2 separate regions of the Homo sapiens genome follow, and region 2 is linked to region 1. Evidence: promoter capture Hi-C in 16 types of primary human blood cells and fetal thymus (Javierre and others, 2016). All regions are on one chromosome and are shown on one strand. The core of a region is centred on a gene start or on the middle of the fragment in contact, and the rest is flanking DNA. Distances in the headings are between cores, read along the strand shown.

The links. Contacts are between HindIII fragments. The CHiCAGO score rates a contact against its expected background, and 5 or more counts as called.
Region 2: a contact is called between a fragment that was not itself captured here and the fragment with the promoter of TMEM19 in region 1, in 1 of 17 cell types (non-activated CD4 T cells). The highest score is 5.2, in non-activated CD4 T cells.

Annotation. Positions count from the first base shown.
Region 1 is chr12:71,682,509-71,687,829 of GRCh38, reverse strand. It overlaps TMEM19 (transmembrane protein 19), which reads right to left and starts at 1,748. Exons shown (of 6, transcript NM_018279.4): 1 at 1,020-1,748. The coding sequence starts at 1,149. It overlaps LOC124902965 (a long non-coding RNA gene), which reads left to right and starts at 1,766. Exons shown (of 2, transcript XR_007063367.1): 1 at 1,766-1,908. RefSeq lists silencers at 1,201-1,416, 1,407-1,476. The HindIII fragment of the contact is 11,589 bases long and covers 1-4,199 here.
Region 2 is chr12:69,577,980-69,583,332 of GRCh38, reverse strand. FRS2 (fibroblast growth factor receptor substrate 2) reads right to left here. Exons shown (of 9, transcript NM_001278356.2): 9 at 3,540-5,353. Among named protein-coding and RNA genes, the nearest start is that of MIR3913-2, 4.1 kb to the left of the region's middle. The HindIII fragment of the contact is 812 bases long and covers 3,174-3,985 here.

The sequences.
Region 1 (5,321 bases), core at 499-2,998:
TGACCAGTATTTTGTTTTCATAGGAGAAGGAAGTTTGTGTAAATGGAGGCTTATGCTCTAAAGCACCTTTAAAACTTTAAAGATCTGAGTCCAGAGTACCTTATATTTAAGCAATGTAGCTTTAGGCTTTAAAAGGAGTCTATTCTTTTGAAGCAACCAAATGGCAGATAAGTCCTTCAGCTCTCCAAATGTAAATAGTATACCGTTTTTAATTCTTATTATTTTTACAGAACATGTGAAACTGATAAACTACATTACTACTTTTTTTTTTTTGAGACGGATTCTCGCTCTGTGGCCCAGGCTGGAGTGCAGTGGCTCAATCTTGGTTCACTGCAACCTCCGCCTCCAGGGTTCAAGTGATTCTCCTGCCTCCATCTCCCAAGTAGCTGGGATTACAGCTTTTTTCTAGTTTTAGTAGAGCTGGGGTTTCACCGTGTTGGCCAGGCTGGTCTTGAACTCCCGACCTCAGGTTATTTGCCCGCCTCGGCCTCCCAAAGTGCTGGGATAACAGGCGTGAGCCACCGCGCCTGGCCCATTACTAATATTCTTATTCAAAATTAAAAGCATCACTGTAATTGCTTTACAAAGCTATATTCGCCTCACTTATCTTTTACCAAGACAGATGGAATAGTTACATAAAATATAAAGACATTTTGAAATAGGTGTAACTAGTCCAGAAGTGGTGGCCTGTATTGCCAGCACTTTGGGAGACACAGGTGGGAGGATCACTTGAGCCTAGGGGTTTGAGACCAGCCTAGCAACACAGAGGGACCCCTATCTTATACAAAATAAAAATTAAAAAAAAAAAGAAATAGGTATAACTCGAATTATCACAACAAGCATTTATTAAAGGCATTGTTTATACTATCATGTTAGTAAGTTAAATCAGGCTATGGAAGTTAAGTAAACACAACCATTCATAACCATTCAGAGGATATGAGTTTTGGATTTCACAATGGTATGGTTTTAATTTCCTCTGACTAGATTACAGAGAAACAACTTAGAACACTCAGACTTACCATAATAGGTGCTTGCAGTCATTGATATAATCCAGAAAGCTAACGAAATGCAAATGATCAGGCTCAGTATAACTATATTAGTTATCATCTTTATATATCTTTTGCATATATTGTCGTTAAGATCTGTCATGGAAAATAAGGATATGAGCTCCTGCGGGAAAGAATATTTAGCGTTTCGGAGAGAAAGTCATTTACGATGTGAGCAAGACACTTGTTCAGAGGCAAACATAAATCCCAACATATTCCACCGACCAAACAAGCATAAAAATCACAAAAATTCAAACTCCTTCCGGAAACTCCTACTGGCGGAGAGCTCCAATTCATATGGGCGTGGTCAACGCCTCACCGCAAAAGCAGAGCGCAACCCGGCGGACGGTGAGGGCCGGTCGCCGGCTGCCGGCCGCTTCAGCGCCTCACGCCGGAGCCCACGGGGAAAAGAGAAAGCCGAGGCAGCCAATCCGCGGTCCCGGCGCTGGCGAGTTCCACCCACCTCCCGTCGCAACCTTCTCACCCGCGGGCCGGGTAGGCCAGCGGCTGCAAAGGGGCAGCTAGGGCACCCGAACTTGGGCAAGTCTGGGAAGCACGCCCGACGCGGCTGAACGCAGTCACGTCCCGACAGCTGCGCAAGCCGCCCTAGGGTCAGGTCCAGCCGGCCAAGGCCGAGACCCCAGGAGCAAAGCCCGCGCCTCCCGGCGCCCCCGCCTCTAGCGCCTCGCCCGCTGTGGGCATGCGCCGCAGCCGCTTAGGGGGATGTCGCCTAGCTCACGTGGGCAGGCACTGCTGGCATCCTGGCCGGCTGCGTTTGCACTGCTTCTCCAAAACCACATTATAGGTACTAAACAACATTGTTTAGTACCTATAATGTGCTAGACTCCTGGCTGCTAGCGAGGTAAAGTTAAACATAGTTTCTATTACTGAGCTCTCGTAATTATTGTCATAACACCACTTAGATTGTGGAAATATCTGTCCTCACACCCCTTATATTAAAGGTGTGTGCATTTAGAAAGCAAAACGTCTTGTTAGCATTAAAAATCTGAATCGTGGCTGATTTCTTTTCTTTTCTTTTTTTTTTTTTCGAGACAGTGTCTCTCTCTGCCGCCCAGGCTGGAGTGCAGTGGCACGATCTCTGCTCACTGCAACCACCGCCTCCCAGGTTCTAAGCGATTCTCCTGCTCCAGCCTCCGGAGTAGCTGGGATTACAGGCGCCACAACCACGCCCGGCTAATTTTTATATTTTTAGTAGAGACGGGGTTTTGCCATGTTGGCCCGGCTGGTCTCGAACTCTTGACCTCAGGGGATCCACCCACCTCGGCCTCCCAAAGTGCTGGGTTTAATGGCGTGAGCTACAGCGCCCGGCCTGATTTCATGTTTTATGTGAAATTAACTTGTTTGCCTGGGTTAACAGTAATTAACTGATAATTACATAATATTTATCAATTTTTTCAGTTAATTGCTGACAGTGTAAGAAGAGGAGCCAAATCCATTTCAGACACAGTATGCAATTGTGTTTTAAGCCCCAAGAGTAGTTACTTTAAAAAAGCTCACATTATTTTAAATTTCAAAATACATGCCAAGACAGCTTGTCATTTTCTTTGGTAAGACATCTAATTAAGTAGTTAACTAAGAATCAAATCTGTGAAGTAGGACTAAATAGTAGTGGGCTTCCTGTACTAGATAATATACATATATGGTCTTTATGCTGAAATGTATTATGTGCCTACTTTATTTTTGTCTTAGTCTGTTCTGCATAGGTAAATGTTTGGATTATTTCACCAAGCTGACTGGCCAGTATCAATGTTACCAGACTACTGGGTAAAATTATTAATAATGAAAGCTAATGTTTTGTGGTTTGCACAGTCGCATTGTTTTTGTCTCTGCTTAGACAAAATTATAAACTGGTCTTTTTTTTTTTTTTCTTTTTTTTGCCTTGCTTCACCACAGTCACAGAGTGACCCTCTCTGATTAGTTGGTGTTCGATAGGAAAATCATAGCCTAGTTGTGAATGTCAAGCTATCTCCCAACACTGTGGTGTAGCTGTGTCAGGTCAGTCCCTGGATGTCAGGGATGATTTTCTCATGACTATTAGATCTGGCTAAAAAATGCATATTAAATAGTAGTGTCAGTGAACTGACCCTTTAGATGAATATTTTCCCTTCTATTTTTTTCAGTGACCAATTATAGATGTTTTTCTCCATAAAAGTTATTCTAGCTTAAGACCAAAATAATTTAGAGGAGTTAATATAATTAAAATACAGTAGTTCTTATATGCAATAGGCAGTTTCAGTTACCAAGGGTTAAACATGATCTTGAGGCAGGAGAATAGGGTCTCCTATTGAGGCAGGGAACCTAAGGCCGATTCATGCTGACTTCCTAGAGCTAAATCAAAAGGAAAACCCCAACTTCCCATACCTAAGTAACAAAAGGACCCAAAGCTACGCCCTTTGCAAACCCCTCTTTTTTTCTGCGTGGCAGATAGAAAATTGAAAGTATCTCTGCTTGGTAGCTTTCTGCAACCAATCAGACGTTTGCGTAGGAGTGTAACTTTGTAACTTTGCTTCAGCCTCTAATTGGTTGTTTTTCACAACCAATCAGACTGATTGTGGGCTAGTACTTCATTTACATTTACATAAGGTGTACACCAAGTAACCAATGGGAAACCTCTAGAGGGTATTTAAACCCTAGAAAATTCTGTAAGGAGGCCCTTGAGCCCCTATGCTCAGATGGTTCCCACCCTGTGGCGCGTACTTTTGTTTTCAGTAAATCTCTGCTTTTGTTGCTTCATTCTTTCCTTGCTTTGCTTGTGTGTTTTTCCAGTTCTTTGTTCAAAACACCAAGAACCTGGACACCTTCCACCGGTAACAATCCGAAAATATTAAAAAGAAAATTCCAGAAATATTCATAAGTTTTAAATTGCATGCCAAAGTAGCATGATGAAATCTCATGCCATCCAGCTCCATCCCACCTGGGACGTGAATCCTCCGTTTATCTAGCATATCCATCCATGCAATAGACATTACTCTCTTGTTAGTCACTTAGGAGCCATTGCAGTTATCAGATGGACTGTTGCAGTATCACAGTGCCCTTATTTTAGTTCTATTACAATATATTGTTATAATTGTTCTATTTTATTATTAGGTATTCCTCCTAATCTCTTACGGTGCCTAATTTATACATTAAGCTTTATCATAGGTATATAGGAATTGGAAAAAAATAGTATATATAGGGTTTGGTATTTTCCAGGGTTTCAAACATCCACTGAGGGTGTTGGAATGTATCTCCAAGGATAAAGGGAGTGGGAGGGGCTCTTGTATACTTTTAAAAAATCACGATTTTACTGTTACAATTTTTATAGACTATCAATCTTAAAAATTTCAACAAAGTCTTTGTTTTTCTATTTACTTTGGAAGCCATTTTCTGGCAATGGAAAATTTCTGGTTAGGCATTTCCTAAACTATATTTTTTAACTTAATAGTAGTTATTCTTTGTTATTAGTAGGCATCCCTACCACTCAAAAGATACCTGTGATCAAATTTAAGGTTGAGAAATGTTGTCTCTACATGGGATAGTTAGAGTGTATTATTAATGACTCTAAGAAGTTAAGAAACAAACACATTTGTTTAAATGGTTCCAACAGTTAATTGTCTTCATCAGATTTATTTCCTGTAGAAAACATGCAGTTTGAGACTTACTATAGCAATCATAGAATAAACTGAAAGTTCATTGTTGCGCTGATCTTTAAATTTCACAATATAAATACCCATTTATGGTTAAGTGCTCTTTGATATAAAGTTTGGATTTTTCTATGATAGACATTTATATTCAATACCAATCACAAAAATTATCCTAATGTCAAAAAGCACTTACTGTGTGATAGGAAATTATCAGATTTTATTTACAATCCCTTTGAATCTAATTCAAAGGGATTGGTTTAGATTTTCTGAAATGTGCGAATATTTGAGTGATTTGAGTGCCAACACACATACACCACATGTGTATGTGTGGTGAAGGAGCATAGCAGATGAAAATGGACATGTAGACAATTACATTATAAAAAGATGATGACTTTATCCAAGTCATATATAAACAGGACTCAAGGAGAAAAGCACTTATGTCACTCTGGTATGTTTAGGGATGGTGTCACACAAGAGAGGGGAGCATCCAAGGTAAGAATTGAAAGATGACAAAGAGTTTGCTCAGTGACTAAGCTAAACAAGGGCAATTTGTAAAGGTTTGTTTGGTGGTTAAAAAGAACATGAAAATAGGAAGTTCAAGAGAATGGAGAAGAGTTAGAAATAACACATT
Region 2 (5,353 bases), core at 2,330-4,829, 2.1 Mb after region 1:
AAATGTGTCCTTTCTCCATTGCATCTTTTGACCCTTCCTTCTTTCCTACTTCCCCCTCCTTTGATGACACCTCTACACCTAGAGGCTAAACACTCAGCTTCTAGACCCAGACTATATGAGTTTGAATTTCAACCATTTTACGTACTAGCTTTGTAGTCTTGGGTGGGTTTCACAGGCTCTTTAAATCAGTTCATTGAAGGCCATTCAGAGCGTGATCAATGTGCTGGTTTACCAAAAACTGTCTCTTTTAGCTGTTTATACTTTTTTGTTGTTGTTGTTGTTGTTGAAACAGAGTTTCACTCTGTCGCTCGGGCTGGAGTGCAGTGGTATGATCTCAACTCACTGCAACCTCCGCCTCCCGGGTTCAAGCAATTCTCCTGCCTCAGCCTCCCAAATAGCTGGGACTACAGGCATGCACCACCACAGCTGGCTAATTTTTGTATTTTTAGTAGAGACAGGGTTTAACCATGTTGGCCAGGGTGGTCTCGAACTTCTGACCTCAAGCAATCTGCCCACCTCAGTCTCCCAAAGTGCTGGGATTACAGGCATGAGCCACCACACCTATATATATATTTTTTAATTGAGACAGGGTCTTACTCTGTCACCCAGGCAGGAGTGCAGTGGTGTGATCTCCACTCACTGCAACCTCTGCCTCCTGACTTCAAGCGATCCTCCGACCTGTCTCCCGAGTAGCTGGAAATACAGGCATGCGCCACCACACCAGCTAATTTTTTGTATTTTTGGTGGAGACGGGATTTTGCCATGTTTCTCAGGCTGGTCTTGAACTCCTGAATTCATGCGATCTGCCCACCTTGGCCTCCCAAAGTGCTGGAATTACAGGCAGAAGCCACTGTGCCCATCTATTTATACATTTTATCGTAATTTGTATTAGATAGGTTACAGGGCCTATGGAGATAGTGAGACCTTGGGAATCCATGTTTCTGTGATTAAACACGTTGTGTGACTTTCTCCTGGCTCATCTTCTGTCCTCTACTCTCAAGTCCCTTGGTCTTGGCTTCTCTTAGTTAACCCTTCCTCCTCCCTCAAAGTCTTTGTGACCCTCTCCTCTCTATGACCCTGTGTCCTCCTCTCTCTTCCCCTTGGTATAATTTGGCTTTCAGTGAATTGGCTTTTTGTTAACTGGTCAGCTTCCAGTTATATAATCTCTCTGTGCCTCAATTTCCCTTTGTGTAAAATGGAGATAATTATCACAGATTAAATAGCTTAGAACAGTGCCTGTTTAGCTTAGCTATTGTTATCATTATATCCCAAGTCTTCTAATAGGCTTTATAAATATAGTAGCCGAGGTTGGATATGCTTGGCATGTTATGGAAGTAGGAAAGCACTGTAGCATATCATTATTTGATGGCTAGAGGTGATTTGGGAGCAAGGGTAGATTCATTAACTGGAGTGAAATAACTGGCGAAGTGGCAAACAACCACCAGAACAGAGTTATGGGACTTGTCAACATTCCTCAGGAACAGTTAGAATACCTGGGGAAGGAAACCAAATAAAGGACCAGGAGTCCACAGTCACATTAAGTTGGGTCCACCCAGACACCTACTGTTTGGGTAGTAGGGAGAAGGTTAGAAGACTTGATATTTCTCCTGTTGCAGACCGTGATAGTTTGTACACAGGAATCAGTCTGTGGAGCACACTTAGAGGAGCACTTTAAAAAAAAAAAAAACAGGGTCTCATTATGTTGCCCAGGCTGGACCACAGTGGCAGGATCACAGTTCATTGCAGCCTCAACCTCCCAGGCTTAATCTATCCTCCTGCCTCAGTCTCTTGAGTAGCTGGGACTACAAGCACACACCACCACGCCAGTTGATTTTTGTATTTTTTCATAGAAACAGGTTTTCACCATGTTGCCCAGGCTGGTCTCAAACTTCTGGGCTGAAGTGATCCACCCTCCACAGCCTCCCAAAGTGCTGGGATTACGGGCATGAGCCACCATGCCCAGCCCCCAAATATATCTTAAATCTCAATGAACTGACACCATCAACCATCTCAGTCACCCAAACCAGATAACTGGGGGTCATCCTTGACCCCTCCATTTCTGTCATTCCCCTTATCAATCAGAGGTGTTAATTCTTCCTCCTTTAGGCCCTCTATTACATTGGTGGCCCTGAATAAACTACACTTTTGATGTTCATGCTTTTATATGAGCCACTGTAATTCAACAAAATACAACAGAATTGACATTGTGCCAGTTCTGGGCTTAGGCCTCAAGAAAGCCTAGCAGCATCTACTTTTGTGCTCTTGGGAACCCTAAGCTGCCATGTAAGAAGACCACATGAAGAAAGACCCAAGACTTCATGGAAGAAAACTAAGGAACACAGCTGAGAGCTTTAAGTTCCAGACATAACCTAGTGGAACTGGTCCAGCCAGCCCTCAGCTGCTTGAATCATACTAGCATAGGCACAAAGCATATGAGGAAGCCAGGCCTCCAGACATCATGTGAGATGAGCCATCTCTGCTGTGCCCTGCCCATCTCGATCTATAGCAACTTGAGACATTAAATGATTGCTGCTTTAAGCCACTAACTTTTAGGGTGGTTTGTTGCACAGCAGTAAACAATCTAAACAGTCCTTTAACAATGCCTTTGAATACGGATTTATCAGATCTGGCTCCATTTCTGAAAAAGCCTCTCAACCAGTCTCCCTGCTTTATTAAAATACCGTAGGGCCAGCTACTTGGGAGGCAGAGCCAGGAGAATGGCATGAACCTGGGAGGGGGAGCTTGCAGTGAGCCGAGATGGCGCCACTGCACTCCATCCAGCCTGGGCAACAGGGAGAGACTCCGTCTCAAAAAAAAAAAAAAAAAAAAAAAAAAAAATACTGCGCCCTTCACGTATCCATGTTGTCAGAGAAATCTTTCTAAACTATTATTTTTCTGGTGTTTAAAATCCTTCAAGTTCTCTCACCTAATTTAAACAAAAGCTCCTTAGGATTCTGTGATCTGTTTCTCATTTCTCCTTTCTTCTGTATCCCCCAACCCTGCCTTTGCTCTCCATGCGCTTAGTCATTTGGAACCTCTTGCAACCACTGAATGTCATGATCTTTCTATACCTCTGTGCCTTTGCACATGCTATCCCTTCTCCCTAAGACATCCTCTCTAAGCTACAAAGACTTTCAACAAACCACCTCAGGGATCACCCCCTCTAAGAAGCTTTGCTTGAAAACCTCCACCCCTAGGCTGAGTTGGATGCCCTTCCTTTGTGTGTGTCTTTATCATGCCAGTTACATCAATCACTTGTGGACATGTCCATCTCCTTCATTGTTTAAATAATTTCCATCTTGACCTGTACTCAACTAAGGCTTTGCAATGTCACTCAGTGGCTAAAAACAGGTTTGAAGTCCCAGAGCTGAGAACTACTATTTGGAATGATCACACAGCTAAAACTGTGAGAAAGCCTGTCATATAGTTACAATTTCATTTTGATATCTTCATTTTGAAAATGGAGGCAGTGATATGAGACTAGGAAAGAAAATGTCACAAAGTTTCAAGTAGTATGTGAAATATAAATACAATAAAACTTTTAAGTAGATATCCGACCAAACGTTTTATTGGGGTTTTATTGCAATCTACTTTCAGCAATAAGGGGAAAGTGAGCATGAAAAGAACTCCAATCAGACTTTATTCAATAAAGCAGCTTTTCATGAATGCTTCAGGTCAGTGTATGATCAGCTCAGCTTCCAGTATCAACTTGAGTACCTCATTATGGATATTTATGCTAGAATGACAACAGTAAGGCATTGCAAAATCCAAAGTCATCTAATATTAAACCATATTTTACATAATTTGTAGGACAGTATACTAATACTCTACAATAAATAAGGATTTAAAAATGTGTTGCTTAGCCCTTGAACTAAATTCAATTACTAGCTTATTCTAAGTACTCCAGTTAATAAACGTTTGATTGTAAAGAACTCTGACTTCTCCAAAGATAAAAAAAATTAGTTGTCATGACAAAAATTAAGCTTAAAAAGCACATTCACACTTGTCCTTAAAAGCAAGTTTACATCATATATGAGAAAACTTTTCATGCCTGATGACATGGCTTATATGGCAAAAAACAGTCATATGCAAAGGACAACTAGAGGGCAATCGTCCCATCCCCACTTCCTCCAAAAAGCCACACTCGGCCTCAGTGTAAAAGTTATATTTTATTGCCATGCTACAAAATGTATGAAGTTGGCACTGATAGGGAGAAATAGAGAACAAAGGGTGGGAAGGGATAGAGGGAAAATTATGTTGTTACATATACAACAAGGTTTTATTTTAATTAACAGTGGTTACGTTTTGCCAATATTAAAAATGCAAACCAAAATTTAAAATGCTGATCTGAAACAGCATTAAGATACAATGTATGCATAGTACAGTATCACTTATGTCTTTTTATTAGAGAAATATGGAATGTTTATAAAAGAAATTAACCATGGGGGTAAAATTCATATTTCATATACAATTTGGCAATGGTAGTCCCACTGTTGGACAATTTTTTATAAAAGAAAAAATTAAAAATCTAATAAGCTACCTTTATACAAAGTTGCTATATTTATGCCTTTACGTAGGAAAAAAACATTTATAATGCAAATTAGGACATACAATAGTCTTACAATATTATACAATGTAATGAAAATAAAACATAACACAAAGTTTGTCCTTTATAAAATGTATATTTTGCATTACTAATGCAAATGTGGCACACTGGTGACTACTGTACTACTTATACCAGTCTGTTTCCATGCTATAACTGTCCAATTGCCATAGAACTGCAATTATAATGATGCTACAAAAGAACTGTGTTATACCAAAAATGAGGAAGTAGGGATGGGGAACAGGGATGTAAAGAACAGGAAAGATAGATAGGGTGCTGGTTTGGGCAGAGTATACTGTGGTACGTCATAAAATATGTTAATTTTTCAAGCCAAAAACATTTTCTTTACATTCTGTAATTTCGTACCAATGCCTTTATTCAAATTTGGCAAACATCAAGGAAAAGGTAATTAGTACCATATACCTCACACATCAGAAATATGAATGAGATGCCAATACATCAGTTACTTGTGAATGATGTCTCTGATGGTATGTCTATTTCAAGAATATATGTATTTATACACACACACTACACATTGCACAAAACATTTGGGCATTATAGGTTAGGAATAGCACGGGGGAATTGGGAAGTACTTTTTCATCTGTTAAAACCTTTACCTTGAGGCAAAAATATGGCGGCACATTGTTGGGAAATTATGAAAACATAAGGCCCCTGTCCCATTTTTAATAGAACATTATTGAGGTACATTTTTATATGCTGTGCCACAGTTTTGGGGAGGGGGAGGAGATA